Linked DNA regions of Homo sapiens: regions 2, 3 and 4 are each linked to region 1. The links are contacts of gene promoters, found by promoter capture Hi-C in blood cells and fetal thymus (Javierre and others, 2016). All regions are on one chromosome and are shown on one strand. The core of a region is centred on a gene start or on the middle of the fragment in contact, and the rest is flanking DNA. Distances in the headings are between cores, read along the strand shown.

Evidence for each region. The method cuts DNA at HindIII sites, captures the fragments that hold promoters and counts their contacts. A CHiCAGO score of 5 or more calls a contact.
Region 2: a contact is called between a fragment that was not itself captured here and the fragment with the promoter of PDE6H in region 1, in 1 of 17 cell types (total CD8 T cells). The highest score is 6.1, in total CD8 T cells.
Region 3: a fragment that was not itself captured here is called in contact with the fragment with the promoter of PDE6H in region 1 in 2 of 17 cell types (total CD8 T cells and neutrophils); the score reaches 6.1 in total CD8 T cells.
Region 4: a contact is called between a fragment that was not itself captured here and the fragment with the promoter of PDE6H in region 1, in 1 of 17 cell types (total CD8 T cells). The highest score is 6.3, in total CD8 T cells.

Annotation. Positions count from the first base shown.
Region 1 is chr12:14,969,698-14,976,271 of GRCh38, reverse strand. PDE6H (phosphodiesterase 6H) reads right to left here and starts at 3,230. Exons shown (of 4, transcript NM_006205.3): 1 at 3,186-3,230. The HindIII fragment of the contact is 3,244 bases long and covers 1,591-4,834 here.
Region 2 is chr12:14,741,065-14,747,485 of GRCh38, reverse strand. The region is part of intron 2 of LOC105369669; the gene reads left to right. Among named protein-coding and RNA genes, the nearest start is that of H4C16, 27 kb to the left of the region's middle. The HindIII fragment of the contact is 1,207 bases long and covers 2,024-3,230 here.
Region 3 is chr12:14,827,940-14,833,881 of GRCh38, reverse strand. ART4 (ADP-ribosyltransferase 4 (inactive) (Dombrock blood group)) reads left to right here. Exons shown (of 3, transcript NM_021071.4): 3 at 4,420-5,942. The coding sequence ends at 4,511. Among named protein-coding and RNA genes, the nearest start is that of ART4, 13 kb to the left of the region's middle. The HindIII fragment of the contact is 4,773 bases long and covers 570-5,342 here.
Region 4 is chr12:14,722,421-14,729,233 of GRCh38, reverse strand. The region is part of intron 5 of GUCY2C-AS1 (GUCY2C antisense RNA 1); the gene reads right to left. Among named protein-coding and RNA genes, the nearest start is that of GUCY2C, 29 kb to the right of the region's middle. RefSeq lists a silencer at 382-562 and an enhancer at 5,084-5,273. The HindIII fragment of the contact is 2,358 bases long and covers 4,290-6,647 here.

The DNA of each region.
Region 1 (6,574 bases), core at 1,981-4,480:
TGCTGTGATTCCTTCCTTTATCCCCTACTGGACTAGCTTCATGAGGCTGTCCTTCCAGTCTCAGAACCTACAACAGTGCATGGTGTACAGTAATCATGCCATATATATTATATTTGTCAAATGAGTTAATAAATTAATTTAGAAATTGAACAGGCCAGGCACGGTGGCTCACGCCTGTAATCCCAGCACTTTGGGAGGCCGAGGCGGGCGGATCACGAGGTCAGGAGATCAAGACCATCCTGGCTAACACGGTGAAACCCCATCTCTACTAAAAATACAAAAGATTAGCCAGGTGTGGTGGCGGGCACCTGTAGTCCCAGCTACTTGGGAGGCTGAGGCAGGAGAATGGTGTGAACCCAGGAGGTGGAGTTTGCAGTGAGCTGAGATTGTGCCACTGCACTCCAGCCTGGGCGACAGGGCAAGACCCCGTCTCCAAAAAAAAAAAACAAAAAAAAAAAACAAAAGAAATTGAACAAATACTGTAAACCTTGGTCATGAGATCCTGACCCTTTGACTTCTCCATCAGAGCACAGAGAAGTCATTAGCTTTCAGGCTTTAGGAAATGCACTGCCAGTTCCTCTGCTCACTAAATTCAGTTCCCGTTCTGTGGGCCCTCTCTACCCCCGGTAGACAGGCAAACCTTGTGTCTGTCCCAAGTGTGGTTGGGACCCTGGGAATAGCTGGTGAGCAGCCAAGATCTGCGCTGTGCTCAGAGTGGACCACCAGTAACTGACACATCCCAGCCCTGCCAGAGTCACAGAGGGCAGCTAGAGAATTGCTCTCAGATCAAGGTTTTTGAACTGCCCAGGATTTTCAAGGTAGAAGAAATCAAAAAGTTTCTTTTCTCTCATCTAAAGAATCTATTAGGGTTAGAATTGCCAGATTAAGCCAAAAAAAAAAAAATTACAAGACACCCAGTTCAATTTGAATTACAAAGAAATAATTTTTTTTAGTAAAGTATATCTCAGCTGTTTCATGGTACATATTTATACTTTAAAAAGTCATTTTTTTTCTGGAATTCAAATTGAACTGGCATCCTTCATTTTTATCTGGCAGCCCTAATAAGATCCAATTGAGTTGGATCCAGAGTTCTATAATGTAAGGGCCTAAAGTGACCCTCATTTGTCAAATTGTCCTTTGATGGTAACACGGTAGAGAGTACACTCTTTAGAATCAAACTGATATAGTTTTAAGTTCCTACTCCACAGAACTGGCTACGTGACTTAGGATAAATTTCATAATCCTCTGTGGGTCTTATTCCATCTATAAAATGAATCAAACAAGACCTTCCTTTTAGAGTTATGGGGAAATTTTAGGAAGACAATATAAGTAGAGTGGTACAAAGTGTTCAAAAAGGGCAAATATATGCTAGACCTTCTGAGAGAAAAGAAAGCCATGCAAACAAATCTGTGGTTATGACACTTGTTCACCTGGACTCTGCACCTCCTTCCTCTGGGCCAACTGCTGAAGGGCCCTTGCCATACACCAGAGGGGCAATTATCATCTGCCCTCGCTGGGTAATTCTCTGCTTCCTTCAAACACCCCGACTGTTAACTTATTTCTGGTCTTAAAATTCTGTCTTAAGAAGCTTTCCTTGAATTCCTTTGACACCCCAACAGCAACCCCGAAGAATTTAAAAATCACACGTGACATCCATATTCCCCAATGATACATCCCCTTTTTTCTTGCAAGTTTCTTTTGCATTTTTACATAATTTTGAAGTTACACCTCTAGGCTTAGAAAGTGTTCATGTCTGAGTATGATGCATTATATGAAAGAAGCCTCCTCAGAAAGAGTTACATAACAGTTGCCAGGTTAATCCCTTGATCCTAATGGTGCTCAGGATTTGCACTAGGTAACCGGAACAGTCGACTAATCCCTATGCAGTTTCTGTCATAGATTTACCCTCCAATTCTCTCTGCAAAACCTTTAGGAAGGGTAGAACACCTCTGACCTTTTCCTGCATTGGAAGCCAGTCCTGTTGTCCATAAACATCACCAAAGGCTAACCTCATGCTGACCACACCTTTCTAGAAATTCTAAGGGCATCTGGAGCTGAGTAACCTTAAATGTATTATCAGACTTGATTTTAGCTGAAAGAAGTTTCATATTTTTTCCTCCAAAAGCATTAGGCAATTTATTCTTTTGTGAGCCAGAACATTTTCCTGTATTTAAAGCAATGTTAGCCCTTCCCCTTTTGAAGATTACAAACTGTTTTTCTGCAGAAATAAGTGGATGCAGCAAAGTAATATTTCAAGGCATACTTTTTTAGGGGACTGGGATTAGGGTCAACTTAACAAAGTTAAAGATTTGTATAAAGCAAAAAATCATCTTCTGTTTCTTTATACAGCAAAGCCCAGCTCTATATAGTGACAGAGGATGATCCTCTGAAAAGCAGTTTTAGGAGGTTCCTGAGACAGCTCTCTGATGCTGCTGTTATCACCTTACACTTCCAGTTCTCTTTTTCTCAGCAAAGCTATAGACAGGTAGACCAGTCCATTGTTGGTGGACAAAGAAAGAGGCAGGAAGGAGCTGGGAAGGGAAGTACTGCTGGGGTTGAGCCCATAAATATCACCCAGGGTCCTGCTGAGGCAGAGAAAATCAATAATTTGAAAAGCAAAGCAAGACCCAAACCAAAGCCATAAAAAAAAAATTACCAAAATTCCAGCCAGCACCCTGCTTCAGAATGGAACAAACACTTGACCTCAAAGGGAGAAGGCTCAGCCACCTGCCCTGCCCTGTGGTCATTCTCATGCTCTCAGCTCCCCTTCTCCTTTTCCTCACACTCACACCATCCTGGGCCAAGTTTGCAGGCACATCCTGGGAGTAAAGAACTGTTTTCTCTGTGGTTATTTAGTGCCACAGATTCCTCCTTCTTCAGAAAACTGTTTACTATGAAGCTGCAAACAGGGAGGTCACTATTGGGCTCCTTCTAAATGAATTCAGTAATCAAGTTTTGCAGTGACCTTGTAATAATCAAGTTTCACTTATTTGCTTGTCCCATGGCATAACAAGAAGGTCTGCATGTATCTCCTTCATGTTCTTTCCCATTTTCATCCCCAGCCACAGCCCAGGCCCACAGGTCCAACATGTTTTCTTCTGCAATTTTTCTTTTGGAACCTGATCAACCCCCCAAAGCCCTTCAATTATCCTGCTCAAATTCACCAGAAGTTCAGAAGTACTCACGGAGCTGAATGTTGTTCCTATCAGCTGCCCAGCTGCCTTCTTTGCAAAAGACAAAAGGATCTTTGCATCCTGACTTATCTCTCTGTAATACCCTCATGCTGCCTAATCTCACCGTCATAAGCTCAGAACAGCAACCCAGGTGCAAAGAAGTTAGGAGAACATGGGTTGATGCTGGGACAGGCTTAGGAGTTTTCCAATAATTAGAGGCCCTTTCAAAACTGACTTGGGTTCATTCCAGTCAATAAATAGGTATTGTATTCACAAAAACACAAAAAGTGTTGATATCCAAGGGTAAATTTCAGTTTGTGATTCAATATCTTCTGTCTTTTTTTTATTCTTACCTTTAGATTTCAATACCCCCATTTCTTCCCTTTCTCTGACAAACACACACCTATGTGCGCAATCACACACACACATATACACAGTGACATAATTCTTATGGGGCTCTAGATAACTGGAGAGAAGAGAGGGAGCCACAGTGCCTCCTGCTATACAGGGACATTGAACATGCGGGCAGTGACATTGGGAAACACACAGTATGTCTCCCTAACTGGTATTGTGCGAATTTCCTCAGAGAGATGGAACCTCAGAGTCAAAACTGATATCTGACACAGAAAGGGCCCAAATGACAGCTAGGAATTGTTAACTGAGGACACTTATTTGAGAATCGATTGCTGGATCTTCCGTACCTAAATGTTTCAGGGTGTAGGGTCTAGGGTACAATCCAATTTACTGAGACTCCTTGACTCAGTCTTCCTATTTTATTGATCCACTAGTATTAATTATTAATAGATTAATACTTTTTGTATTTTAAATAGATCTCAACCCATATGGTAGTTATCAGTAAGCTCTTTTGATAAATTTATCATAGAAAGATTAAGTGACCTATTCAAGACTGCAAATAAAATTAATAGTGGAGCCAGGAACAGGGCCCAAATCTGGAAGTACCTTGCATATTCAATTGTCTTTGTGCTGCACTACATCAAAGCAGACAGAGACCAAGATGTCTGTTTGCTGGTCACTTCCATGCCTTGCCAGTGAATTTCAATGTTCTTTCCCCAGTTGTTACCTATTAGAAAATTACACTCCATAACATTACAGAGAAAGAAGGTCAATTTATCCTTTCTAGACAGGGAGAGGTTCTTAACCTGCAGCCCTAAGCAGATTACATGAGCAACTAGACAGCTTGAGAGTCATTCATATGCTCTCCACTGGTCTTTACCAAAATTCCTCTGAGTTTTGAAAGCAATGATTACCTTGCAAAGCCAGGAAAGTGTTTGGTCTCTGGATGAGTCCCTCTGCTCCCTCCTCTGTATCTCCATTACCATTCACATCTTCCTTTACTATTACATACCAGGCACGTTAATGTTCAGATGCTTATCTGTCAAACTTTTACATATTCTCCATTTTCTTGATGAAAGAATACAAATTTTAAGGACAGTGGAAAGTGCCAAAAGCTGAGTGAATGTTCTAGAATGTTGTTACTCAAAGTGCAGCAGCAGCAACACCATCTGTGCACTTGTTAAAAATGCAGGATTTCAGCCCTGCTCCATACTTACCGAATCAGAATCTGCTTTTTAACAAGGTCCAAGGTGATGTGTTTGCATATTAATGTTTGAAAAGTACTGTTCTAGACCCATATGCAAGCTTGGGTTTACCACTTATCTGCTATATGTCACCTCTCTGAGTCTCAGTTTCCTCATATGTAAAATGAATGATTTAGAGTGTTGGGGTTCTCAATTTTTTTCCATCCCAGTACACTTGAGAAAGATAATCTTGCAATTCTCAGATTCTCAATTTTTGAATATGGGGGTGGTTGTGCCATAAGTCTTCTTCCTCCAAAGGAAATCCAGGAGAGAGAAGAGGGAGAGATTAGGAGTGTGGAGAAAGTCTAGGTGTATAGTTTGAAAAATTCTCCTAAAGCCACTCTAATATGGTTCTCAGGGGTTTAGAATTAGAAAATTCTTAAATTACTCTACAGTCTTAAAAATCTATGTTCCTTCTTGTTTTGGACCAAGTAAAGTAGACACATTTCCTCTCATGCCTCTTGCTAAGTACAGCTAAAAATCCTGGATACTATATATGACAGAAATATGGAATATTTCAAAATATTTGAGAGAAGAAAAACCAAAGACAGGCTTTAGATGCGAGGAACAATATGGCAGGAAGTTTCCTGAATTTTCTTTTTGTATATCCGGATGTTGATGCAGGAAAAGACAGTAACCCAAAAACACCAAGAGGAGTGAAAAAACAAAAAACCTCCCCAAAAGCCTGTTTTTTCTAGACAAGTGACCAAGAGAGTAGCAAACTAGCAAGAACAAAAACATTTAAACAAAAACCGCCCTACTCCAGTCAAATACCATGGAAAAAAAACATGACATGACTCAGCAAAGTCTGAGTGGAGAGCCAAGACTTTCATCTTGATTCAGCTACAACGGGGTGACCTTCTTTCTCCCACCCTAGCTGAGTAGCATCAGAGAAAGCCACATTGGGATCTTGGACTTTCACCTCCAACCAGTCATAACGAGGCCACCTTCTTCTCCCTACCAGAGCGGTATCAAAGAAGCCCAAGTGGGAAATTTCATCTCCATTCAGAAATAACACAGCATGTAAAAAAGCATGAAATAAAGATTTTAGAACTGAAAAATAGAATAACCAACATAAAAAACTTAATGGATAGGCTCAAAAACAGAATGGAGAATAAAGAAGAAAGAATCAGTGAACTTGAAGACAGAAAAATAGAAATTACCCAATCTGAACAAAAGACAGAAAATAAACCCACCCCCCCACAAAAAAAATGAATAGAACCTTACAGATCTGTGAGACTAAAGGACCTAATATTTATGTCATCAGCATCTCAGAAGGAAAGGAGAAAAGAGATGAAGCTTAAAAAGTACTTGAAGAAATAATGGCTAAAAATGTTCCAAATGTAGTGCAGGACGTAATTGTGTAACATCAAGAAGGTGGGAAAACCCAGTGGGATAAACTCAAAGAAATCTACACCAAAATACACCATGGCTAAACTTCAGAAAACTAAAGACAAAGAAAAAAAGTAGAAAGCAGTGAAAGAGAAGCAACACCTTATCTGTAAGAAAAATAACTCAACTGACAGCAGATTTCCCATTAGAAACCAGGGGGACTAGAAGGATATGGCACATTTTTCATGTCCTGAGAAAAAGAACTGTCAACCCTCACTTCTATGTCATGTGAATTTATCCTTCTTCGGAATAAGGGGAAATAATGACATCCTCAAACAAAGGAAGACTAAGAGAATCTATAATCAGAAGACCTACTCTAAAAAGATGGCTAAGGAAACTTTTTGAAACAAAAAATAAATGATAAAAGAAAGAATTTTAGTCTATCTGAAAAGAAAAATGGAAGATAAGAAA
Region 2 (6,421 bases), core at 1,378-3,877, 230 kb after region 1:
TGTTGGTATCTGCTTCTGGTGAGGCCCTCAAGAAGCTTTCAATCATGGCAGAAGGCAAAGGGAAGCAAGCACATCACAGGGGGAGAGAGAGAGCAAGAGAGACAGGGGAAGTGCCACACCCTTTTAAACAACCAGATCTTACCTGAATTGATTACTGCAGGGACAGCACCAAACTATTCATGAGGGATCCACCCACACGACCCAAACATCTCCCACCAGGCCCCACCTCCAACATTGGGGATTACAGTTCAACATGAGATTTAGAGGGGATAAAGGTCTAAACCATATCAGCTAGTTTCCATCAAGCTATTGAGAAATTTAAAGACATTCTGATTTCTAATCCCATGTATTTGACTTTTTACGTCTAAAAGCTTTTAGAATTGTATCTTTCTAGCTGCGCTTTGAAATGCTTCATTGTTTGGTGTAGGTCTTCATTTGTTGTGCAGGGTACTTAGTAGGCCTGTTATTTCTTATTATTTATTTGATAATTTTCTCTGTTTCCTTTCTTCCCTCTTAATAGAAATCTATTATTTATTATTATATTTTATTCATTCTCTGCATTTTTTGCTGTACTATTGGAAGTTTCTTAAGCTTTATCTTTCATCCTAATGGAATTTTTTAATGGCTTTTTATTTTTTTGTGAGATGTTGTTTTGCTCTTTGAATATTGCTTTTTAAATAAACACATAGTTTTTCTTGTTTCAGGGTTGCAATATTATCTCATATCTTTGGGGCTGCTTAGATTTCTTTTTTCAATGCTTCATTGTTGCGGAAAGTCAGGGACCCTGAACGGAGGGACCGGCTGAAGCCATGGCAGAAGAACGTGGATTGTGAAGATTTCATGGACATTTATTAGTTCCCCAAATTAATACTTTTATAATTTCTTACGCCTGTCTTTACTGCAATCTCTAAACATAAATTGTGAAGATTTCATGGACACTTATCACTTCCCCAATCAATACCCTTGTGATTTCCTATGCCTGTCTTTACTTTAATCTCTTAATCCTGTCATCTCGTAAACTGAGGAGGATGTATGTCGCCTCAGGACCCTGTGATGATTGCATTAACTGCACAAATTTTAGAGCATGTGTGTTTGAACAATATGAAATCTGGGCACCTTGAAAAAAGAACAGGATAACAGCAATGTTCAGGGAACAAGAGAGATAACCTTAAACTCTGACTACTGGTGAGCCGGGAGGAACACAGCCATATTTCTCTTCTTTCAAAAGCAAATGGGAGAAATATCATCGCTGAATTCTTTTTCTCAGCAAGGAACATCCCTGAGAAAGAGAATGCACCCCTGAGGGTCGGCCTCTAAAATGGCCCCCTTGGGTGTGGCCGTCTTCTATGGTCAAAACTGTAGGGATGAAATAAGCCCCAGTCTCCCATAGCGCTCCCAGGCTTATTAGGATGAGGAAATTCCCACCTAATAAATTTTGGTCAGACTGGTTGCTCTCAAACCCTATCTCCTGATAAGATGATATCAATGACAATGGTACCCGAAACTTCATTAGCAATTTTAATTTCGCCCCAGTCCTGTGGTCCTGTGATCTCGCCCTGCCTCCATTTGCCTTGTGAGATTCTATTACCTTGTGAAGCACATGATCTCTGTGACCCACACCCTATTCGTACACTCCCTCCCCTTTTGAAAATCACTAATAAAAACTTGCTGGTTTCATGGCTCGGGGGGCATCACGGAACCTACCGATATGTGATGTCTCCCCCAGACACCCAGCTTTAAAATTTCTCTCTTTTGTACTCTGTCCCTTTATTTCTCAACCTGGCTGACGCTTGGGGAAAACAGAAAAGAACCTACGTGACTACAGGGGGCAGGTTCCCCGATACTTCATTATTCTTCTTACACTTTTAATTTTTTGGAGTACTTTTTCTGTATATTTTCTGTATATTTTATATATAGTTTTTTTCTGTGTATTTTATAATGGAGGCTTCCCTCTAATGCCAGATAATATTTAAGCTTCCCATTCATATTTAATAGTGCGGCACTGGAAAGCTGATTGCAAGCTTTGTACTTAAGTTCTACCTGTTGACCAATGACTTTCTCTGTAGGGTAACAGGTAGGGACTTATTTTTAAGTGAATCATTAGCTGCCAGTATCCTTAGGTTTTTTTTTTTTTTTTTTTGCTATGTCAGTTTTCCATGAGAATCCTCTGCCTGTACAATAATAAGTCTACATGTAAACAAACCCAAAGTTGTGGACTGGAGCTTGGGGTCTCATTTTTCAGTGTGTAGGTTTCTAGTCCCTACCCCTTTCAGTTCAGCCTCCTCACCTTTCTGCTGTCCTGAGTGTGAAGGATAGCAGATGTCTATCCTTCACATTGAATCCTCTGATTCAGTGTCTCCAGAGAATAAACCTCCCATCTCTGTTGAGGTAAGGGTGGGCCGCACAGGCTCTAACTGATTCTCAAACCAACTTTAAACCAGACCTTCTGTTTTCAGCCCTATCTGCACAACTACCTTCAGAGGCATCTTGCATTTTTAATTTCTGACACTTTTGGAGTTCCTCAATGCAAGTGGAAGTTGCTTTTTTTGGCTCTCCCCTGAACTTGTAGAGTACATAGTTTTCATCTTTATTCAGTCTTCTAAGTGAATTTTCTCATGTCCATATTCTCTCTAATTTTTCCCAATTTTCTTGCCATCTCTGGTCAGCTGTTATCTTCTCTTTTTTTTCTTTTACAGTTTGTATTTTTTTAATCTATGCATTATCATTTTAGAGAAATAAGGAGAAGCAAAGATAAGCATATACATTTAATCCACTGCACTTAACTAGGAGTTTGTATTTAATAATCCACTTTAATCAGATGTCTACCTAACATTTTATTGAATCTTTTCTGCCTCCTTGCTTTTCAGGTTTTTTTTTTTTCTATTCTTGTATCTACCATGTAGGCTTGCCTATTATCTTCATTTAGCATCCTCAGGCAAAGCTATTTTTTATCATTGCCCTTCCATTGCACTGTGTACAATGCTGCTCTTGCTGCCTTGAGTACATATTGATGTAGTACAAATATGTGGATGGATGGCTGTCTTCTGTTTCTCTGGGTGGGGAATTTTTCTACACCCAGGGTCCAACATGGGGCCCGCTACTGACTCATGTTCCTTAAACTTTATTGAATGAAAAAAAAATGCCTCAGAAAATTTAATGGGAAACTCAATGCAAAGACCTGAATGTCCATGGGCCAGTCAAGCTATATTCAGTATCAGGATTTAGAAGCTTCAGAGATCATCTATTTAAACTACTTTGTTTTACAAATGAGAAAACTAAAGCCTAAATGAGGAAAATAAAACTTATTATATGGTATATAGCAGGGACTTTAATTCACATTTTCTAAGATCCTCACCCACAGATATTTCTTCCACAATCTATTTCTTTAAGCAATGACATTTTGATAACCAGAAGTCAGCATATTAATGGCTCTATTGTAAACAATACATTTTGTTTTTGTTACTGAATCTAATTACGTTTGTGAAACATGATACAGATAGCTGTGTACAAAACAAACTGAGGTTAGGAAACTTCAGCAAACCAGATAAAAGGCTGATGTTGGAAACCATGTGAAATGATAAAGATCTGAACTAAGATGGCATATGGAGAAAAATATTGATGGGATATATCAAAAAGCAGAAGAGAGAGATGCATTAAATAATAGGCAGGATAAGGAGGATGTTTGTACCATTTTCAACAATAGGGTGAGTGACACAACAGGAGAACCGTCATCTCAGACAACCACTGCCATTTTAAGTTCCAGCTCCCTTTCTAGCCTCATGCATTTCAAGGAAATCACTTCCCTTCTAATAAGGAGCAGCCAGAAAGAGCAGACAGTAAAACAAAGATAAGACAGCTCCGGCACAGGAGGAAGTGGGGGGAAAGTCTCTGCCAAACTTCACCCTCATACAATGGGCCCCGGTAAAACAGTGGGCCTTAAAAAGCTCATTCCTTTCCCTTCAGGTGCACTAAGAGGCAAGCTAAAAGCAGACTTGGGGGGTATGCCTGCAGCTGCAGGAAGATGTATGGGAACAGTCATGAAACTCTCCCTCCCAGATAAGCACAATAAAGACACAGAAGCAGTCCAAGCCTCTGATAAACTCTCCCACCCTGAATCCTTAAAAACTCTTACTTAGTCTGTAAGAGAGCAGGCTCTGACCTAACTCAGCCAGAAGCCCCTCTCAGGTTTGTTTTCTCTAAAATAAACCTGTCCTTGGCTGTCGAGCCACCTTTCATGTTTCTTTCCTCTTTAATTCTTACAGAGAGGATTTTATATAATATTATTGCAAAATAATTGGCCTTTTTTCCATGGAACCACATATACTGATTCAGAATTCATTCTCTAACAAAAATAAATCAGTGGATAATAATGAAAGTTCAGCACTACACTTAGTTAAAATGTTTCTCTAGAAGAAATAGCCTTTTTGAAAAGTATAAGCCCTGATTCCTCAGTGTGGATTCTTTGCGATATCTCATTTTAACCTCTTAACTAGTAATCTGGTTTCAAATAAGATGTGCTACAGTCCCTACCTTGGGCTCATAAGACCACAGACTTTTCCATAAAAAGAGATGAAAGGGAGATATGTGGCCATCACCACTTACAGGTGTACAAAATGTTTAACTCTCTGCAAAGGTCAGTCTTCAGTAAAACGTTACCAGGTGGTGCACTTGTAGAAGTTCCTGATTCCTCTGCTTCCAGATTTGGGCAGGGACTTTAATTCACGTTTTCTAAGATACCCACAGATCTTTCTTCCACACTGTATTTCTTTATTTTAAGCAATGACATTTCAATAAGCAGAATTCAGCAAATTCATGGCCATATTGTAAACAATACATTTTGTTTTTGTTATTGAATCTAATTACATTTGTGAAAAGTGATACAGATATCTGTGTACAAAACAAACTGGGGTTAGGAGACTTTAGCAAACCAGACAAATGGCTGCTAGGCTCATAAAACGTTAGACTTTTCCATATCAAGGGATGAAAAGGAGATATGAGGCCATCACCACTTCCAGGTGTACAAAATGTTTAACTCTCTGCAAAGGTCAGTCTTTGGTAAAATGTTACCAGGTAATGAAAATTTTGGTGAGTATATCTCTTATATTCCCTTTTCTTCCACATATTCGAGGGCATGCTGAGAAATTCATCCTTTCTTGGTTTTCATTTTGTATCTTTTCTATTTTTCCTCCTACCTCCCAGGTTATTCCTCTTCAGTCTCTTCTACAAGATCCTTGTCCTCTGCCCTACTTTAATTTTATTTATTTTGTTTTGTTTTGTTTTGAGACAGAGTCTCTCTCTGTCGCCCAGGCTGGAGTTCAGTGGCATGATACTGACTCACTGCAACATCCACCTCTCTGGCTCAAGCAATTCTCCTGCCTCAGCCTGCCAAGTAGCTGGGACTACAAGGACCTACTACCATACCTGGCTAATTTTTTTGTATTTTTAATAGAGATGGGGTTTCACCATGTTTGCAAGGCTGGTCTTGAACTCCTAACCCCAGGTGATCTGCCCGCCTTGGCCTCCCAAAGTTCTAGGATTACAGGCTTGCCTTCCTTTTAGATGCCAGGGTGTCCTGATTGTCTTTCTCAGTGAGCTGTCTCTTTATTATATTGTGTCTCAACACATTCCCTGGGTAATCTCACACCTTTCCATGGCTCCACCTACTACTACCTCTTACCTATGGACTCCAAGTCTCTGTTGAGAATTCAGACCAATCTCCTTAGCTCCAAACCTGGATTTTCTACCAAATATTATCTCCTCTAAAATTTCCACGGTCACCTACTCCTCAACATGTTTAAAATTGAATAATTTTCTCACAGATTTAATTTTCCTTTTTTGTGGCCTGGGAGTTTTCCTATTCTTGTCCCGCCCTCTGTTGCCCTCTGTTGTCCACCCTGACATCTAGTCTCCATTTGAACGTTCTAAAAATCCATTCCTTCTTTTTCTGATCACTTTTTAGTTTAGTTCCTCACTGATTTACAGTTCTATTTTTATTTTAAATTTTTTTAGATTTGGAGTCTCATTCTGTCACCCAAGCTGGAATGCAATGGCATGATCATAGCTCACTGCAGCCTTGAACTCCTGGGCTCAAGCGATCACCCTGCCCTGGCCTCCAAAAGTGTGATTACAGGCATGAGCGACCATGCCCGGCACTGATTTCCAGGTTTAGTCATTAACCACAGATGTGGGGCTAACTATGTACCCAGCACTGTGCTAAGTACATTATCTGCTTTACTTAGTTTGATCCTCATGACATTCCTATGAAATAAACGTATTGCCCTCATTTATACTGAAGATGTTAATAAACTTGACAAAAGACATAATGCTAATAAATAAAGGAGCCTCAGTTTGAAATCAGCTTTCTTTCTTTCTTTAGTTAGTTAGTTCCTCTTCGTAACAGGAGAAAACTGGGTTTTCAAAA
Region 3 (5,942 bases), core at 1,707-4,206, 140 kb after region 1:
GTTTTTGCTAGGTAATATTCTACAATATTAACACTCTTGCTCCTTGCATTTTGACAGAAAGAGGCTATAGATAGCATTTGCCTCAAACACTAGACTTGGTATACTGCACGTCAGCTTTACCTTTTTCTGTTTAAGGACTATTTACTTCTGAACAGTCTGATAAAATTCAGATTCAGACTTCATGAAATAAAAGTTATAATCATTATGTATTTCTTCCAGACTTTATACCCTAAGGCAGAGATGACCAAAATCAGGTTATAATACACTGATAAAATGATATTTGTTTGGCAGTTTAGTTTACAAAACGCTTGGACACCCATTATCTGTTTAGTTTTCACAATCACCCTGTAAGTCAGGTTATTGACTCCGCTGTACTGATGTGAATGCTGAGATTCAGAGAGCTTAAGGGATTTGCGTAAAATTATTCATAGTTTACAAATGACAAAAATAGGATCCTTCCCCATGTTTTCTAATAAGAATTCCAGGACAATATTCTCCATAGACTGGTTTCAGGGGATTCATCCATTCTTCAACAAATATAGCTGAGAAACTACCGTTAGTTTTAAGCTTCTTGACTATGACTGTTTACATTATAAATCAGTTCACACACACATAAATATGCAAATACACACATATTCATAAAATACAACAGTTACCCTTTTCATAGGCAGTGTTAATGCTAGTGTTTCTATTCTAACTTATTTTATTACATTATTAAACAATGATGGCTATGACCTCCTAAGCTGATGTCACAACCCATCAATTGATCACATTCTCCAATTTTAAAAATCCTGTAAAAAGGTAAAGAGAAAATTAAAAACTTTGAAGAGATAGTTGAATAGAAAACTAAAGACAACTACAAAAGTAAAAAAAATGTGAGGTATCCTCAAATAAAACTTTAGTTTGTAATTAATGCACAGCTGTCTTTCATTTATTTTCCTAAATATATGGTCCATGTAACAACAATAATAATAATAATGCCAGGTAGAAATGATAATGGCCATAAAAGAGGTAGAGAAAAAGTATCAACAGAGTTAGTTACTTTAACCTGACATAATAAAATCAAAAGGAAGCTATTTTTAACATCCTAATTATTATAAAGAGGACTTATGAATTTTTTTGAAGAATGACTATGATTGCAAGACAGTAGTGTCTATGTGTTTGTCTCTTATTTGGGTATCATCATAATAGCAGCTATTATTCATTCATTCAACAAATCAGTATTTATTGGTCACTTGTTATTTGCTAGGCACTATCCTAGGTGCAGGGAAGGAAATAGGTGAAAATCCCTGCCCTTGGGGATTTACATTCTATTGATGTGAGGCAGAAATAAACAAAATAAATAAGTAAATTATGTCGTAGTTAGTAGGTGGTACATACTAAGATGAAAAATAAAGCAGAGTAAGGAGACAGTGAACACTATGGGAAGGAGTGGCAATATTAAACTGGGTGATCAGGGGAAACTTCACTGAGAGGGTGACATTTGAGCCAAGGTTGAAAGGAGATGAGAGAGCCAGTCCCATGTATATCTGAGGAAAGAGCATTCCAGGAAGAAAGCACAGCAAGTGCAAATGTCTCAAGTAAGAAGCAACAGCAAGGATGCCAGTGTACGGGAATGAGAGAAAAATAATAGAAAGCGAAGACAGAAGATGATGTAGATTCGATCACATAGGACCTTGAAGGCAGTTGTAAGGACTTTGGCTTTTCCTCTTAGATAGGATACCACTGAGAGGTTTTGGGCAGAAAACATAGAAGATTGTGTCAAAACTGACCTAGCAGCCCAGTAGAGGATAAACTGTAATGAGGTAAGCAGAGAAACCAAGTAGGGGGCTATTTCAATCATTCAGTTGAGAGATGAAGGTGGTAGAGTGGAGGCAGTAAGGTTTGACCAGATTCAGAGCCAAAAGGAGGTCCTGACACACTGGAAGTGAAAAGTGAGGGAAAAAGAAGAGTGAAGAATGACTCCAAGGTTTGGCTAGAGTAACTGAAAGGATGGAGGTGGCACTCACTGAGATGGAGAAGCCTGGGGATGGAGTAGATTTAAGAGCAGGAGTTTGGTATTTGACATGTTATATCTGAGCTGTGCAATAGTAACCCAAGCAGAGATGTTGAGTGGACAGTTGATGCACAAGTGTAGAATTCCGAGTGACCCAGGATGGAAAGATAAATTTGAGGTCAGTGGGTTATGGGTGGTATTTAAAGCCAAGAGACTGGATGAGCTCCCCACAAAGGTGTATAAATAAAGGAGAGAAAATGTCCAAGGATCAAACCTCAGGACACTCCCATTTTAAAAGGTCAAGTACAAAGAAGATGGAGAGGCCAGGTGTGATGGCTCACACCTATAATCCCAGCACTCTGGGAGGCCGAGGTAGGTGGACTGCTTGAGCTCAGGAGTTCGAGACCAGCCTGGGCAATGTGGTAAAACCCCGTCTCTACCAAAAATACAAAAAAAAAATAGCCAGGCATGGTGGTGTGCACCTGTAGACCCAGCTACTTGGGAGGCTGAGGTGGAAGAATCACTTGAGCTGATGTTGCAGTGAGCAGAGATCACACTGCTGTACTCTAGCCTGGGTGACAGAGCAAGACCCATCTCAAAAAAAAAAAAAAAAATGGAGAAGGAATGGCCAGTGAGGGAGGAGAAAATTGATAGAGTTGGTGTCCTAAGAGCAAAATGAAGAGTAAGTATCAAGGAGGATGGAGTGATTCACTACCATAAATATGGTTGATAGGTCAAATACAGTGAGGACTGAGAATTGACATTACATTCCAGGAAGCTCAACATATAATCTCTTAAATCAGACTCTCTAGGTTAAATACTGGCTCTGTCACTTACTGTGTGGCCTAACAGAGACCCTTAAGCTCTCTAAATACTGGGAAAGGGTGGGACTGGAAATCCTTGTGATCTTTAGCCTCAGTGAAGAGGAAAAAAAAACAAAAATCGTTTGAGAACCATTCTAATGATTGACCTGCTAAAGTGGTATTAAGGCTTCCTAAGTCTCTGTAGGGATTCATATAATTTGATTTTAACACAAACTTTGACAAAAGTTTAGAAAGACATATGCTCTTAATTTTCCTTGCCAACTCTTATTGGTGAAAATTGAGGTCTTGAAAATTACTGTATCTACTCCAGCTTGGTGACAGAGTGAGAACTCCAACTCAAAAAAATAAGACAGAAATTACTGTATATATATATATATATATATATATATATATATATATATATATATATATACATACATACAGTACACACATACACACACAGAGTAATTTCTGTCTTTTCTGTCTTGGAATTTCTACTTGTATACACACACACACACACACACACACACACACACACACACACACTCCTATATAGAAATTCCAAAAAACTAAAAAATGTATATATTGTGTGAAAATAGTAGAAATGTATTTCTCCCTCATCTGGTTATCCTATCAAACAATATGAGCAAATATTGAGGCAATTAGAGTTGAATCTCTTCCTCCCAGAAACATCTTTTCTACCTTAAACAATAGTGAAAACTGGCTGCAAAGAGATTCCAGTCTTTATTTAGACTATTTTTTACAGGGTTTCCATCTCCCATCTCATTTCAGTCCCCACCCCATTATATGGCCAATTATTAGTTATATCTGACAATATTTTTTTTTATTTTCCAGTTTTGCTTCCACACCTAACTGGCTGCTAACCTGTCCCACATTTCCTGTGAAAGGTGTATATGTGTAGTTAGAACACACACACACACACACACACACACACACACACACTCCAAACAGGATTGTGTGAATATTTCTTGCTCACCTTGTAATGAAAAATTCTATGGATGGACATGTAATACACAGACAAACAGGTTAGTGGTTAAGAATGCAGAATTGAGACAAACTGGCCAAGTTTGAATGGTGCCTATACTATTTACAAGATGTGTGACACTGGCAAGTTTTTTCTCATCTCTGTGTCACAATCTCATCAAGTAAAAACCAAGGATATTGAGAATAAAAATCTCATAGGTTTGTTGTGAGGCTTAAGTTAATATATAGCAAGGGCTCGAAATAGATCCTAGCACAAAATCAGCATTCAGTCTGTGTTAACTTTCATAATGGTGATGAAGATGATGATAATTAAGATGGGGATAATGCTAACAGTGATTATGCTGCTGGTGATGATAAAGATGGAAAATTAGATCTCTACCACCAGCTGGCTGGGTTACCTGGGAGTACATCTTTTAACCTCTTGGTGTCTGTTTCATCATCTGCAAAATAAGCAAGTTATGTTAGAAAAATCTAAAATAATGTGTTTTAAGTAGCTAACTTCAAATGTTTTTATTAGGAATTTTCTAAGTTAAGTAAGTGGATCAATGGATAGATGAGGTAGTTTTAAAAAAAACTCTGCTACCTAAAATATTTCCTTTGTTTTGTTTTTTACAGCTTCCAGCAAGAAATGCATCCCTGATCCTATAGCTATTGCATCTCTCTCCTTTTTGACCAGTGTCATCATCTTTTCCAAAAGCAGAGTATAAAGAAATCTTGTGGCTCCTTTTATTTAAAAAAAATATTTAAATAAAATCTTTTTTATTGGCCTTTTGGCTAGAAATGGACATTTATTTTCCAGGAAGGATGATCCCATCATACTTCTGCTGAAACCAGTGCATGGCCTCCTCTTTGCTAATTCTCTTATGCCTTTCCTTGTACCCCTTTGCCTTATTTCAATCTGGGCACCCTAAGTACTCTTGGGGAAATCACTCTGCCCAGCTAGCAACTGATGCAGAGCTGGCTCAGCCCACTGACTGTGATTGGCCTGTAACTCAGGCCTTAGCCAATCAGTATATTTCTTCTTCATGGACACAAAGATTCATGCTGGAATAGAAAATGATCCAATCAGAGCCTGTGAGATACAATCAGGGTACTTTTGTGGAATTGCAATTGGAAATAGAATGGGAGCTTCTTTTCTGAATGGATATTAATGAAAGCAGGGTAGGAGCTTATAGCTGCCAGCAAAGATCCCGCCACCAGGAGAGGAGACCCCATCTCCTTGAGAAAGGATCTAACACAACAAAGGAAGAGCTGATAAGTGAAAAGAAACTGAGACCTGATGAGAATGTATAAGCCTCTGGATCCAACTTTGCCTAAAGCTGAATACTACAAGATTTTTCATTACATAAATCAATAATTTATGTTTTTGCTTGCATAATTTGAATTAGATTTTCTATGTCAAGCATCAAGCAGTTGAAGTTCCAACGAATACAAGCACTCTTCCTTATTTTTTTTAATTTAGTTATTCTAAATAGGAACAAATCAAAGAAGATTAAATTAGAAAGCAAAGGACAAATTCTTCACCAAACAGAAAAGCTTTGAACCCCAGAGATTAACCAAGGTGTGAATTTTCTTCAGAGATTTTTTATGAGCATTCAAGATTAAGCTAGTATGGCCTCAGATGAGAAGACACATGGAAACTTGAGAAATAAAAGGGAAAGTTAATGAAAGATGTTAGTGAAATTTCATTCACCAGCAGTAATGGGTGTTCATGCATGTTCCTAAGACATTACAAAAGTTAAAATTTAAACTCATATGTTAATTCATAGAGAACTTGATGGCAAATTTAAGTCTTCATAGCAAATTTAAATATTAGGAAAACATGAGGGTATGTGTGAAGGTTAACAGAGAGTATGAGAGAAAAAAACACTGATTACAAACAAATATCAGCAATATAGCGAGGTCTCATTACATGTAAACTAGTACATGCAAAGAAGTATAAATTGTTGAATTGTATAGCTGGAAATGTCCTCTAACGCTTCCCTCAGGTAGTAATTTAGGTAGCGACATAAGGGATTATTTAACCCGATCACGATCACTGAAGACCCTGGTATCAGGCTAAATGGAGTAAAGATGAGGGCTAGCTCTATAATTTTGGATTTTGAAAGTCCATGCTCCTTATCCCTTTTAAGATTTGG
Region 4 (6,813 bases), core at 4,219-6,718, 250 kb after region 1:
GGTTTAATTTGTTATTATAGGCTTTTGTCAATTAAACCTTAATAAAGCTGAAAATATAAAATAAATTTTAAAAACTCTATCACATGATTTTCCAACCATTCTCCCTTCCAATTCTAATTTCCAGTGCCTTGATATGGGTTTACATAAATCCCTGTTCTTCCTTTAAAACATACTGTGGGCCAGGCATGGTGGCTCATGCCTGTAATGCCAGGACTCTGGGAGGCCAAGGTGGGCGGATCACGAGGTCAGGAGTTAAAGACCAGCCTGACCAACATGGTTAACCCGCCTCTACTAAAAATACAAAAATTAGCCAGGCGCAGTGGCTTGCACCTATAATTCCAGCTACTCAGGAGGCTGAGGCAGGAGAATCCTTGAACCTGGGAGGCGGAGGTTGCAGTGAGCCGAGATCACGCCATTGCACTCCAGCCTGGGCAACAGAGCAAGATGCCGTCTCAAAAAAAAAAAAAACACATATTGTGTATATTTATTTCTCTATTTAAGTAAATTACTATAATTTAATTTAAAGTGTCTGTCTTGGCTGGGCATGGTGGCTCACACCTGTAATCCCAGCACTTTGGGAGGCCGAGGTGGGTGGATCACGAGGCCAGCTGTTCAAGACCAGCCTGGCCAACATAGTGAAACCCCATCTCTACTAAAAATACAAAAAATTAGCTGGGCATGGTGGCAGTTGCCTGTAATCCCAGCTACTCAGGAGGCTGAGGCAGGAGAATCGCTTTAACCCTGGAGGCAGAGATTGCAGTGAGCCGAGATCACACCACTACACTCCAGCCTGGGCGACAGAACAAGACTCTGTCTCAAAAATAATAATAATAATAATAATAATAATAATAAAATAAAGTATCTGCCTTTTCCAGTAAAAACTCTACATCTAGTAAAAGTATTATTTGCCAATCACTAACATAGCAACCTAAACCCTACAGGCTTTTAACATACACTGTATTTGATAATTAATGAACAATCTTACTGGTTGATATAAGTGTATCTGTGTTCTTTCTCACATGCGTATTTATTGTAAATGCTTGAGAATAAGTAAGGCAACCAAATGTAAAATTATTTCAGCACAGTTTTGGAAACCATACAATAGCGAGCCATCAAGAATAGCATTCCTTAATACCACACACCATACATCCCCTTGACATATTTCCCACTTGTGTCATATGCTAAAGAATGAAAATGATAGAAGAGCATAATCTGGCTTAGAAATGATAGATTCTAGGATATTTGAAGGTATTAGTTTATATCTTCACACAAATATTCCAAGTTAATTAAATGTATTATATTAGTTTCTGTCCTCACATGAAAATTTCAATAAAGAGCCACCATGTTTCACTTAAAAAAAGAAGCATCAGTGACTGTATTAATATCAGACAAAGTGGACTTCAGAACATAAAAAAAAACCCCAGAGACAAAGAGGGACACTATGTAATGATAAAGGTCAATCAACCAAGGAGACATATCTATCCTAAATGTGTATGTACCAAATAGCAGAGTTGAAAAATATGTGCAGCAAAGACAAATAGAAATAAAATAAAAAATTGACAAATCCGCAGTTGTAATTGGAAATGTCAATACCTCTCCTTCAATAATTGATAGAACTAGACAGAAAATCGGCAAGGTGATAGATGAATTCAACACCATCAACCAACAGGATTTTATCAACGTTTATAGAACACTCCATCCAACAACAGCAGAAAACATATTCTTTGCAAGTGCTCAAGGAATATGTAATAAGATAGATCATATCCCAGGCCATAAAACAAACCTAAAAATGTTTTTTTTTTAATTTAAATCATACAGAATGTGTTCTCTAACCACTGAGGAATTAAACTAACAATCAATAACAGAAAGATAACAGGAAAACCTCCAAACACTTGGAGACCAAACAACACATTTTATATTGTTCTCTTTCAAAGAAAAAGTTTCAAGGGCAATAAAAATGCATTTAATTGAATGAACACACAACATGCCAAATTTGTAGGCTAAAACCAAAGCATTGCTAAAAAGGAACTTTATACCACTAAATTACATACATTAGAAAAGAGGAATCTCAAAGTATTAATCTAAGCTGTCTTCTCAGAAACACAGAAAAGAAACAGCAAAGTAAACCCAAAGCTAGCAGATGGAAGAAAATAATAAGGATGGGCTGGGAGCAGTGGCCCACACCTGTAATCTCAGTTGTTTGGGGGGCCAAGGTGGGAAGATCACTTGAGACCAGAAGATCAAGACCCGTCCAGGTAACATAGCAAGACCCTACCTCTACAAAAAAGTACAAAAAATTAGCTGGGAAGGGTGGTGCATGCCTGTAGTCCCAGCTACTTGGGAGGCTGAGGTGGGAGGACTGCTTGAGCCTAAGGGTTCAAGGTTGCAATGAGCCATGATTCTACCACTGTACTCCAGCCTGGGCAACAGAGCAAGACCCTGTCTCAAAAAATAACAATAAATAAATAAAATGTATAATTTTTAAAAAAGAAAATAATAAGGATAAGAGCAGAAATAAATGAAAACAGGCAATACAGAAAAATCAATGTGAAAATCATTCTTTGAAAAGGTCAATAAAATTGACAAACCTCTTGAAAAGTTGTTTTAAAAAAGAGAAAAGACACAAATTACCAACATCAAGAATAAAATAGGAGATAGTGCTTCAGACCCTACACACATTAAAAGCATAATAAGGAAACCAATCCATACACATAAATTTGGCAACTTAGATAAAATAGATGAATTTTTATTTTATTCTATTTTATCAAAGATAGAATTATCTTAGATATCAAAATTATCTTAGATAAAATAGAACACAAACTACCAGAACTCACCAAAATGAAATATATGCTGATAGACTGATAAGTATTAAGAAAATTGACTTCGAATTTTTTAAAACTCTCCAAGAAGAAATCTCTTCAGGCTTAGATGGTTTCATTCAAGAATTCTACCAAACATTAAAGAAGAATTAATGCCAACTCTACACAATCTCTTCCAGAAAACAGAAAGGGAGAAAATTTTTTCTCAATTAATTTTATAAATCTAGAATTATCTTGATATCCATACAAGACAAAAACAGCACAAGAAAGAGAGAAATAAAAAAGAAAGAATGAGGAAAAGATATTAACTACAGACCAATATTTCATGAACACAGATAAAAAATCTTTAATAAAATACTAGCAAGTAGAATTTAGCAATATATAAAAAGAATGATAAACAACTACCAAGTGGGGTTTATTTCAGGATACAAGGATGGTTCAATATTGAAAAATCAATTAATATCATTTATCACATCAACAGAAAATTACACAATATTATCAACTGATGCAGAAAAAGCATTTGTTAATATTCACAATTCATTAATGATAAAAATTCTCATAAAATGAGAAAGATGGGGGAAATTTTTTAACTTGACAAATATCATCTACAAAGAAACTACAGCAAACATGATATTTAATGGTGAAAGACTGAATCTTGTGGACCCCAAGATTGAAAATAATGTCTGCTCTCACCAGTTGACTATGTTAGTCAACATAGTCCTGGACATTACAGCCACTGAATAAGGGAAGAAGAAAAATGAAAGGCATATATCTCAGTGAAAACGATATTAAACTGTCCTTACTTACAGATTACATGATCGTTTGTGTAGAAAATTTTAAAGCATCTATGAAAAGGGTCTTGGAACTAATAAGGGAGTTCAGCATGGTCACTGACCCAAGATCAACATATAAAAATTAATTCTATTTCTGTATACCAGCAATAAATATATGAACATCAAAATTTAAAATACAATATCATTTATAATCACTCAAAAAATGAAATACTTAGGTATACATCTAAGAAAATATGTATATTATTTTAATGCTAAAAATTACAAAACAGTGATAAATAAAATCTAGAGACTGTCAGGCCTCTGAGCCCAAGCTAAGCCATCATATCACCTGTGACCTGCACATATACATCCAGATGACCTGAAGCAACTGAAGAACCACAAAAGAAGTGAAAATAGTCAGTTCCTGCCTTAACTGATGACACACCACCACTGTGATTTGTTCCTGCCCCACTCTAACTGATCAATGGACCTTGTGACATTCCTTCTCCTGGACAATGAATCTCAGGAGCTCCCCAGTGAGCACCTTGTGACCCCCACCCCTGCCCGCAAGAGAAAAACCCCCATTAACTGTAATTTTCCACTACCTACCCAAATCCTATAAAACTGCCCCACCCCTACCTCCCTTTGCTGACTCCTTTTTCACTCAGTCCACCTGCACCCAGGAGATTAAAAAGCTTTATTGCTCACACAAAGCCTGTTTGGTGGTCTCTTCACATGGACACACGTAACAGAAACAAATCAGCAAAATGGTGTAATAGGAAGTCACCCACTCATATCCTCTCAAAATTTGTCTGCATTCATCCACAGACAAGTCTCTGTGGTAGGAAGGTAGGAAGGTAGGAAGGTAGGAAGGTAGGAAGCTATGAATCCCTGGTGGAGCCCAAGAGCCAGAAAGACTGTTTTGAGAGTGCAGACCAACAGCCAGGTGGCAGACCTGCTGATCATGCCCCTGGGATTTAAATCTAGAAACAGCCTTGTTTCCCAAAAGGCTTAGGTACAGTCCTGTTTATCCTTGAACCAAAACAATTTGCCAAGGGGTCCAGGAGGAATCATGCACATTAGTACCTTGGCAGAAAGGCTCGTCTGCCCACTGACAACGGTCTTGGAAGTGAATTTGAAAGTTACCTTGTAACTGGGCTCCAGTCCTCCTCATCTGGGATCCCAGCTTATTACTGTTTGTGCAAGAACTCAAGAGAAAGACTCACCAATATCTCACAGTCTAGGGATTACACATGTCAGTCATGTAAGCCTACATGATGGGCACATCAGCCTCCATCCCAAAGCAGATCCTGAGGGGGCCCAATCAACTCCAGCTCCTCAGTCTGGGAACTGTCCCATTTGTGCAGGAAATGACTGTGGGATGTGCACCCACCTGACCTACTGGGGTGAACTCACTGGCCTTGATCTCACAGTGAATTCTGAGGGGAACTAGTCTCAACTTCAGCATCTCCTGAGAACTGCTGGGAGGCTTGCATATCTGGGCCACCAGCCCCCATCCCACAGCAGGTACAGAGGCGGCCCAGGCTCAGCTCCATCTTCTCCTGCTGCAGTTGGGGAACTGGCCTGGAAGCCTCGCCTGTCTGGGCCTATGGGACAGGCTTCCAGACTTGGGTCCCTGGCCAATATTCTCACTCAACTTGGGTACATGCCTTGGATCTTCACCAGGTCCATCTCTGCCAGAGTGCATGCCAACTATGGAACTTTTGTGAAACTGACAACAAATATGGGCTTAGGGCACCCTCTAGTGTCGGAACAGCTGCACTGGTCAGAGTCTTTCATAACAGTCGGCTTGGATAACTGAACAGGCCCACTGAAGAAGCATGGGAACATTTAAAGCCAGACTGTGAAGATTAAAATAAATACCTAATTTTTCGATGTGCAGACATCGAAGTGCAGCCACAATCACCAAGTACAATCGGAATTATGACCTCACTAAACAGGCAAAATAAGGGGCTAGTGACAAATCCCAAAGAGAAGATGTGTGACCTATTAGACAAGGAATTCAAAATAGCAGTGTAAGAAAAAAAATTGCATGGAACCACAAAAGACCCTGAATAGCCAAAGCAATCTTGAGCAAAGAAAAAGAAAGCTGGAGGCATCACAGTAGCTGACTTCAAAATATACTGCAAAACTATTGTAACCAAAACAGCATGGCACTGGAATAAAAAAAAAGAATCACAATGACCAGTGGAATAGAATAGAGAACATAGAAATAAATGCACATATTTACAGCCAACTAATTTTCAATAAAAGTGCCAAGAACACACAATGGGAAAAGGACAGTCTAATAAATGGTGCTTGAAAAACTGGATATATATGCAGAAGAATGAAACTAGATCCTTATCTCACCAACTGCAAAATCAGCTCAAAATAGATTAAAGACTTAAACGTAGCCAGGTGGTGGTGCACATCCATAGACCCAGTTACTCAGGAGGCTGAGGCAGGAGGATCACTTGAGCCCAAGAGTTCAAGGCCAGCCTGGGCAACACAGTGGACATAGTGAGTTCCTATCTCTTAAAAAAAAAAGACTTAAACAAAAGATCCAAAACTACAAGAATAAAATATAGGGTAAATGGGCTGGGTGCAGTGACTCATGCCTGTAATCCCAGCACTCTGGGAGGTCAAGGTGGGTGGATCACTTGAGGTCAGGAGTTTGAGACCAGCCTGGCCAACATGGTGAAACCCCACCTCTACTAAAAATACAAACATTAGTCAGGTGTGATGGTATGTGCTTGTAATCCCAGCTACTTGGGAGGCTGAGGCATGAGAATCACTTGAACCCAGGAGGCGGAGGTTGCAGTGAGCCAAGATCATGTCACTGCACTCCAGCATGGCAGACTCTGTCTCAAAACATCTATCTATCTATCTGTCTGTCTGTCTGTCTATCTATCTATCTATCTATCTATCTATCTATCTATCTCTGGGAAATGGTTCATGGCATTTGTCTGGAGCAAGAATTTTTTTGATAAGACCTCAAAAACACAGGCAACAAAAGCAAAAATAGGTGAATGCAATTACATCAAACTAAAAAGCTTCTGCACAGCAAAGGAAATAGACCAAAGAGAAAGCCTATAGAGTGGGAGAAAATACCTGCAAACTATGCATCTGACAAGGGGTTAATATCTGGATTATACAAAGAACTCAAACAGCCCTACAGCAACCCAAAAAATCCAAAACCCAACTTAAAAATGGGCAAGAAG